Linked DNA regions of Homo sapiens: region 1 is linked to region 2. Evidence: promoter capture Hi-C in 16 types of primary human blood cells and fetal thymus (Javierre and others, 2016). All regions are on one chromosome and are shown on one strand. Each heading gives the region's core, a stretch centred on a gene start or on the middle of the fragment in contact. The rest is flanking DNA. Distances are from core to core; before and after follow the strand shown.

Evidence for each region. The method cuts DNA at HindIII sites, captures the fragments that hold promoters and counts their contacts. A CHiCAGO score of 5 or more calls a contact.
Region 1: a fragment that was not itself captured here is called in contact with the fragment with the promoter of PTBP2 in region 2 in 1 of 17 cell types (total B cells); the score reaches 5.0 in total B cells.

The regions. Positions count from the first base shown.
Region 1 is chr1:98,059,000-98,063,394 of GRCh38, forward strand. All of the region lies in intron 1 of LOC124900404 (a long non-coding RNA gene), which reads left to right. Among named protein-coding and RNA genes, the nearest start is that of MIR137HG, 12 kb to the left of the region's middle. The HindIII fragment of the contact is 157 bases long and covers 1,937-2,093 here.
Region 2 is chr1:96,720,253-96,724,803 of GRCh38, forward strand. PTBP2 (polypyrimidine tract binding protein 2) reads left to right here and starts at 1,532. Exons shown (of 14, transcript NM_021190.4): 1 at 1,532-1,620; 2 at 3,312-3,342. The coding sequence starts at 1,613. RefSeq lists silencers at 1,298-1,497, 1,728-2,007. The HindIII fragment of the contact is 2,234 bases long and covers 1-1,593 here.

The DNA.
Region 1 (4,395 bases), core at 765-3,264, 1.3 Mb after region 2:
CGAATTGTTATCTCTACTACCTGTATTATGGAGATTAGAAGTTGTAAGTAAAGAAGTCTGGGTCTTTTTCAACTTTTTTTTGCCCTGAGGCCGGCTGAAGAACTAATAGCATCCTCTCCCACCATGGTCACTGAAAAAAGTAGCAAATCTTAAATAAAGGAAAACATGAGATCTGAGATCTTTTCGATCTGCCTTAAGATTGGACAGAGTTTACGGAATAATTATGTTGAAGCTCCCAAATAATGTGAATGAGGTTATCTTTCTGAAGGGGTGAAAGGGTCTTTGTGACCCACATTCCTTTTGGAGCTAACCTGCTAAAAAAAGAAAAGCAGACAGACAGAAAGAGGAAAACAAATCCTATTTGAGATGGAGGTTGAGTGACAAGAGAAACTTTTAGCCTTCAGATATGTTTGCTCTGCACCAGGTACATAATAATATGGTTTTTGGATCTTTGAATCCATACTTAGCTAGGCATTAAATTCTAGGAATAATCTGTTTATGGAAAATAAAGCCATTTCTATTTGAAAACAAATGGAACAAAATAATTATTTTTCCCCAAATGTGTACCCTTTTAATTGATCAAATGCATCCAGGAAATTCTGCTGGCAATTTGAACACTGTAGGTGTTGTTGCAGCTCTAAATTTGTCTGCAAGAGGAATTGTAAATGGTATTTACCTTTTAATTAAACAAAGCATCTTGCAAATTAAACACATGTTCTTGCACATCAAAATTTAGTTAACATCCTTTTCATTGTTCATCCTGCTGACACTCTGACAGCATCGTGAGTCCACACACAATATAGAGTCATGCTGCTCCCCCCTTCCCTGCACTTTGCATTCCTCAGAGTAGATGATATCACATGCTAGAGTACCCTCTGTAACTGACTTCTAATAACTGAGCAGCTTTTCCCATTTAATATACTTAATATTGTGTAAAATATGGGACTGCATTGGTGTGTCCAGAACCTGGAAAGCTTTGGACACTGATCTGACATATGTCTTATAATCTTACACTGAAAATTTGACAGTGAATGACAGAACACCTTAGAGGAATATAAGAAACTGATAAAGGCAGAAGCACTGCACGTGAATGCAGAGTATGGTTTCTAATAGCTACATACTTTTTTACATGCATACCAGTAATTTGACATTTATAATTCACGGTGGAGCTGAATTTCTGTCATTTTCTTACTGTCAAGTCCTCCACATTTTGAAATAAATGTCCCTTCTAATTATTATACGAATTTGAACTCCAACATTCAATTTTTTCCCCTGTCCCTTATAATGGAGTACTACATTTAGCTGAAGTCTGATTTGCAAGACCAGTTAGGAAGTGTGATCATTTCAAACGTATTCCCACAAACTATACATGGGAACCCCTTTCTTGATTGTAGTCTGTCTTACTTATAAAAGTACAGTTTAAAACCCATCTATCAGTACTATTTCTAAGAAAATAAGGTTGCTAATGGCAGAATGAAACTGAGATAATTGGGATATGGTCTTAATGGAACAAAAGTCAGAGAGAGGTTTTTCAATAAAGCAAAATTGTCGTTAACGACTGTCATTCAGTTGCACCGGTGCTCATTAATCTCTTTTATTTCTGTTTATTTATGGTTTATATAATTGAAATAAAGTCATTTGCTTAGAACATTGCCAAAGGAGAAATGTTTCCTGCTTTGAAAAGAGACAACTCAGAATAATAGTTAAATAAAATCCAGGGTGAAATGAAGTCTTCCTTAGCATTATGGTACCTCTGAGATTTTCCTTTTAAAAGTTGAGGGATTATTTTCACTGTTAGTGTTTACTTTTAAGGTTCAGGCAGCTAGCATGTTGAAGAGATGCTACTCATGTCAGAAATTGCTTTGAGGCACAGAAATGATTGGTATGGATATGGGTGGAAGAGAGGGAGGGCAGCCCTTTAGTGTCATCTGAAAAAAGCTTTCGTTCAAAAAAATAAAATACCTCATCCTAACCAAACTTTAAAAAACAGAAGTAAATGATAAAAGTACACTTTTTGAAAATACTGACTTTTATGTTTTAAATAGGTATTTAATTATTTTCAGTGGGATGATTGTTGTTTGTTGATTAAAATAAGCTTTTATGCAAAAAAATAGGATGTCCCTTTTTGATTTCAAAAAATGAACAGAATGTGGATGATGAACACACAAATAGGACTTAGAATCATCAAACTAATTTCCCTAGATTTAGATAAGACCAAAGATTAGAGACTTTGGTTAGTCACTAAATTTTAAAATATTATTTGCATTTATACCAGCATAACTTCTGTTGCCTTGTTTAAACATTTCACAATTTAACTGGATACAATTTTCCAACTATATAGAAAATCTATGCCAGCCAACAAGTTTCAGAAATATCGATTGGAATTTTCACTGATGTGTAAAATGTGCCTGAACTCTAGATGTAAGATTTTCCTTTTGAAAAAAAAATTTGAAGTTTGATATTGATCCTTGTGCCACTTGGTTTTCTCTAGGCTTATACAAGATAAAGCAATGATTAAACTCTTTGTAGAACCATCCAATGTGTATAATTTTTACAGTTGATATGTAAGACTTCTTTTAGAGTAATTTTTATGATATATTTAATAATGTGATCCCAAGATATTTTGTATATCAATTTCCAGAAAGATAAATGAGAATGTTTTTTAAAAATAAGCAGAACTTTCATCATTGCTGACAAAATGGCCGGTGCCTCTTTAGTTCTTGCTAAATGCCAGTCACTGTGCTGAATATAGGACACATCTTATCCCGTTGCATCTTACAGCAACCCCACATGAAATTACTCTGAGAGAACTAAGACTACAGAGACTGAAATGCCTTGTTCAAAGTCTCCCATCTAGTAAAAAAAAGTAGAGACTGGTTTCAAATCAAGTTCTGATTTATGAGGGAAGGCTCTTATATACAACGCAGTGTGGCTTTTTCACAATTCTCATTTATGGAACACTTACCATGTGTCAGATGCTGTACTTAATACTTTACAGGTTGAAAATGTATCTTGTTTAGCACCAAATCTAAATCATAGATCTAAGACAAAGATTTTGACTAAAAGGCACTTCTGAGCTTAGGCTAAGTGTAGAAGTGGAAGGGTGTACAGGTAGGTTCAACCTAAAATGAAACAGCAAAGTGGGCCAATGTGTCATCAACTCCTTTTCCTATCTACTTCCATTCTTTTCCTCAAGTTTGCTTCTCATTTCTATAGAACCAACTCATGGAAGAAGGGACTCCTGGCAAAATTTGTGTCTGACTAGGCATGTCTGAAAAACTAAACAGAAGTCAAGCTTTAAAGAACAAGATTCATTTGTGCATTCATTCATTCCTTTATTTTATTTTATTTTTGAGATGGAGTCTTGCTTTGTCACCAGGCTGGAGTGCAGTGGCGTGATATTGGCTCACTGCAATCTTCGCTTCCCGGGTTCAAGCAATTCTCCTGCCTCAGCCTCCCAAGTAGCTGGGACTACAGGTGCGCACCACCATGCCCAGCTAATTTTTGTATTTTTAGTAGAGACGGGGTTTCACCATGTTGGCCAGGATGGTCTCAATCTCTTGACCTCATGATCTTCCCACCTCAGCCTCCCAAAGTGCTGGGGTTACACATGTGAGCCACTGGGCCTGGCCTCATTCCTTCATTTTAAAGTATGAAAGTGATGTGAGGAACAGAGAAAATCCTATAAATTACATAGTTCAAGGATGGGAAATTGGAAGCCCTCCAAATTGGGCTCACATATGTGGTTCCCCCCCACCAATATATTATATTTCAAAAAATTGAATTTGAATGCCTTTAGCTGGGGCATAGAGTATCCAGTACAGCATGATCCCTCACCACTCTTAGCAATTCTCATCCTCGTTTCACATATTCTCCACTTGGTTCTTAAAATCATCCGGAGTTCATGACTATGTTGGAGATATCCCAATACTGAAAGTTTTTGAGAAGGTTAACTCAGAATAAGATTATTTCTCCAAGTCAATGCTGTCTTTTTCTTTTCAATGCCTAGTTCAGTGCTTGGTGGATAGGAAGCTCAATAACTAGTTATTGAATGAATGAATGAATGAATGAGACAGATTGACTCCTAGCATCCAAGTGTCCTCTATCCCAATCCAGTGTTTGTTTCATTTTGTCACTTAATCCTCAGGAGGAGTGGGGCAACGTCTCTACTTTTTTGTGCAGGAAATTTAGCTCTATCTTTCAGCACATGATTGTACTCTTTTTGCCTAAATCAAATGAGGCCGAAACTAACAGCAGTTCAGCCAAAGGAGATTCATTCAAAGGTTGGCTTCAAATTGAAATCATGTAAAAACATAACAACCAAATGTACAGTACTTTCCAGAAGACCTAGAAAATCACACTTACTTCCAATCAAGTCATAATTCTTGATGTAGT
Region 2 (4,551 bases), core at 282-2,781:
GAGTTCTATAGCAAAGTGTTTGGACAAGATGCTCTTTAAGGGTCTATCCAATTTAAAAGTAATATTATTTATGGCCGGGCACGGTGGCTCACGCCTGTAATCCCAACACTTTGGGAGGCTGAGGAGGGCAGATCACCTGAGGTCAGGAGTTCGAGACCAACCTGACCAACATGGAGAAACCCTGTCTCTACTAAAAATACAAAGTTAGCTGGGCGTGGTGGCGCGTGCCTGTAATCCCAGCTACTCGGGAGGCTGAGGCAGGAGAATCGCTTGAACCAGGGAGGCCGAGGTTGCAGTGAGCCGAGATTGCGCCATTGCACTTCAGCCTGGGCAACAAGAGCGAGACTGGGTCTCAAAAAAAAAAATTCTAAAAATTATACACAATATCATTTAGTATATGAAATTCCAATTAGCAAAGGATAAGAGCTTTGCCTGAAGGAGACACAGAAAAACCCAGAGTGAGTATTGAGAGTAACTGGAGGGACACAGGGAGTATTTGTCATTTTTCAGAATTAGAAGTGCATTTGTCCTTGTGTGTGTTGGGGGTGGAGGTGAAGGGTGCAGGAGAAGGATGGGTACTGGCAAAGTCGCTACTCACTGAGCAAATTTTCAAGCGGGTGCCTTTCCCAATTTTGTTGAGCCTCTGATAAAAACACGTTGAAGTAAAATGTCCACTATAGTATCAAGTAAAAATTGAGACCGTAAGATATAGCAAAGGGAGTCAATTTGCATAGCCCATTTTAATGCTTCTACTTTCTCTAACCAATCTGAAGACTCAGTTGTTCCCACTCCCATCTCCACTTTCCCTTTCATGCCTCCAAATGTTAAACTCCAACTATTGTAGCATTTTAACACATGGCTCCATTTGTGTCTATTTCCACCTAGCGTATTGTGAATATTTTCTACAGGCGCACACTAATCACCAACTGAAGTGAGAATCACATTTTCCTCCACTTGGCTTGGTACTACAGGTCTTGAAGCAAAAGCCTGTATTTCAGTCTGAGGAGTTCTACTTGCTTGAGAAAGTACTGTTGTTACCAAGTGGTCTCGTTCAGTGGGGTAAAGATTTTTGTTTTAGAGGCTGGAGCCGGTCTGCAAATAAAAGATGGCTTAGGAGAAAAGCTATCCAATGTTTTTTCCTTGGCCCGCATAGGTTGACGGTAGCCAAGCTGGTACTTGGCTTGGAGTGAAAAGTGGAGGCTGCCTGGGGGCGTCCTGCAGTCAGGGCAGAGAGAGTGTGGAGAGCTGTTGGGAGGTGTCCCACCCACGCCCCCACAAGGAGGGGAAACCAGGTCGCCGCGGTCTGCAGCAGAACGCCAGGTTCCAGAGGACGGCAGGCGGAGGGCGGAGGGAGAAAGGCGCGCGAAGGCGCGGAGGAGGCGTCGGCTGCGGCGCCCACTCCCCCTAGTCCCAGCGCCCTGCCGCTCGCCTCCCGCTGCCGGGCGCCGGCGCGCTCGGCTCTTTCCGCCGCCGCCGCTGCCGCGCGGTGGCCCGTGCGCCTCGGCACCTTCGGCAATTTCCGTCGGGCCCCAGCCGCCATTTTCTCGCCGCTTGTGTGGCTCGCTGGCTGCGTGGCTCGGTTCTTGTGAGCGAAGCTTTGTCCGGTTCGGCAATGGACGGGTATGTAATCGGGCCGGCGAGAAGGTGTGTGTGAGAGAGGAGTTGGACCGTCCTTCGGCCCGGTCCCGGGCCGGGGAGAAACCCTCCCGCGGCCCCTCCCAGGGCTGGGCTGCCGTTACCCAACCCCCGCCCCATCGCACACACCCCTCCCTTTGCTTCCCCCGGCGGGCTTTGGTCGAGAAAATGAGAAGAAAGCGGGCTTGGAGGCTGGGGAGGCATAGGGGCGATGGCGGGGGTGAGGATCCCGGAGTGGGAGCGGGCACCGGCTTGGCGGCGGGGGATGGGGTGGGAACCCCATAACGTCTCCCCGGTCTGTCCCTGCCCCCTCTAGGAGCCATTTCGATCCGTACCTTGGGACCCGACCCTTGGGTTAGCGGTGCCTGTGAGAGCGAGTGGGATGGGCAGAGACAGGCCTTTGGATTGGGGGAGCCTCTAGGGGAAGAGGAGAGAGGCACCCCATGTGGACCCCAGCCATGAGCAACCTCTCCGGCCTCGCCCGGCCCTCCGTGGTCGGGAGAGATGCCGGTGGCGGGAGCTCCGGGGAAAGCCTAGTGGGAGCCGCTGGGGAAGGGGGGAGGGCGTGCGGCGGCGGGAGGAAGGGGGAGGGCAGATGTCATACTCCTTTGTTTTCATTTGAGTCTGGTAGTGGGGGCGGGAGGGAGGAAAAAATGCCTTTTTGTGGGGACTGAAAACATTCAAGGCTTGGCAAAAGGGCCCAGAAATTAAATCATCTAAAAAACGAAGTGTTTGAAGCCGACATCAGTCACATGGGCAAAGGCCAACAGCAATGGCAGAAACAAGAGCAGATAGTCAACAAAGGGCTATCTCTTTAGCTACTTTGGTCAGTTTCTGGAAAAACGACTATAAAAACCCAGAACCATGCTGCATCTTTGCGAACCTGAGTCAAGACGGAATGCTGAGTGAGGTGAGAGGCAAGACTGTGAAATGGTAGGGACCGATGTCTCGCTCATATGCTTCACACCTGAAAAGACTCAGTAATTTAACTCAATGTTAGAAAGGGGGCACGCTTAAGGTCAAAAATACAGCAGTATGCAGCTCTTTTGGGAGTGTAAACATAGTATCATTTAACAAGTACATTTATTAAAATCAGTGAGTATTTGAAGAATCAACAATTTGGTTAAGCGCCTAGAGTTTGGTGTGTTTTAAAAGGTACTAAAAACAAGATTTTATAAAAGTTAACACAGTCTCACAGAATTCAAATCATCCTAGATGTTACCTAAAGATTATTTTCCAGATGAAACAAATCCAGAGAAGTTCAGTATTCCCCCCAGATCAACACGGAAATTGATGTCAAAACTTGCACTAGAATTCATGTTTCCTGATTCCTGGTTCCTGTGGAGACTACTAAAGAGTTTAAGCGTTAAATTATTAATCTCAGTATACTGGCATTGTAGAAATGGCATAGTGTTTTGGGTTTTGTTCTTTTTGGCTATTGAATGTGTTGTTAAAAAATACCACAAGTTGTCTCACATTTGAAAGTTACTTTTAGAAAACCAGGTTGGTAACAGTACAGGTAAGTCACGGATCATCTGTGGTATTTTTTATCCCCATCTGTGTGTGAGTGGCTGGAAGATTTATGAATGATGGACTATCCTAAAAAGTTTTAGAGCCAAAGAGTGAGTGATTAGAAGAATAACAGGAGGTTGAAACTACTTATTTTTTCTTTGCAGAATCGTCACTGAGGTTGCAGTTGGCGTGAAGGTAGGAAAATACTATGTTTGAAACTGGGATTGTTGGATCTATTATCATAATTACTGGAAAATTTTAGCTTTTGCTTTTGAAAACTATAACGTAGCTAACAAAACCCAAGTGTAAAATGTTTCCTTTCATTTGTAAAGTTGGACCATATAAACAGTTTGTAATCACCATAAGTTTTTCTAGAACTGTCAGTCTGTAAGAATAACCTTTTAAAGTAAGTATGAATGATCAAGAAATTGAAAATGCTTTCACACATGGCTTCTTGTAATATAAAACGATACCCCAATTTTCTGAGGGGAAATAATGATTTTAAATGGATGGTAAGTGGTTTGACCTATATCTTATAATTTTGTTAATCTAAGTTTTTTGTTTTTTATTACTTTTTGTCATGAAAATGAATATATTTTGGTTAATAATAAAGCACATTAGAAATGAATTACACTGATCCTTAAAAAGGAAGTTGTTGAGGCAGTTAGCTTCAAATTTGAATTAGAAGTTAAGAGCTGGTTTGTCTATTAAAGAAAGTCTTTATGGTAGAGATCCTTTGGAATCCTTCCTTTTTGGCTAAGAAAACTACTCATCGTTTAAACTTTAGTTCTAATGCTTAACATTTTCTTGAGTACTTGCAACTTTTAATGTCATGATGTATTGTAATTTTTTTTTGTTTTTTGTTTTTTTGAGACGGAGCCTCACTCTGTTGCCCAGGCTGGATGCAGTGGCACGATCTTGGCCCACTGCAACCTCTGCCTCCTGGGTTCAAGCAGTTCTCCTGCCTCAGCCTCCTGAGTAGCTGGGATTACAGGTGCGCACCACCACGCCCAGCTAATTTGTATTTTTAGTAGAAATGGCATTTCACCCTGTTGGTCAGGCTGGTCTCAAACTCCTGACCTCATGATCTGCCTGCCTCTTATGATCTGCCTGCCTTGACCTCCCAAAGTGCTGGGATTACAAGTGTGAGCCACCGTGCCCGGCCTGTATTGTCATTTTTCATTTGCAAGCCTCTCTGTCCTGAGAGGCTTTCTGCTTAGTCCAGTGATGCTGACTGTTCAAACATTTTTTCGAATTCTTAAAATTGTATCCATAATGGGGGGAGGGGGAAGGGATAGCATTGGGAGATATAGGGGGGAGGGGGGAGGGATAGCTTTAGGAGATATACCTAATGCTAAATGACAAGTTAATGGGTGCAGCACACCAACATGGCACATGTATACA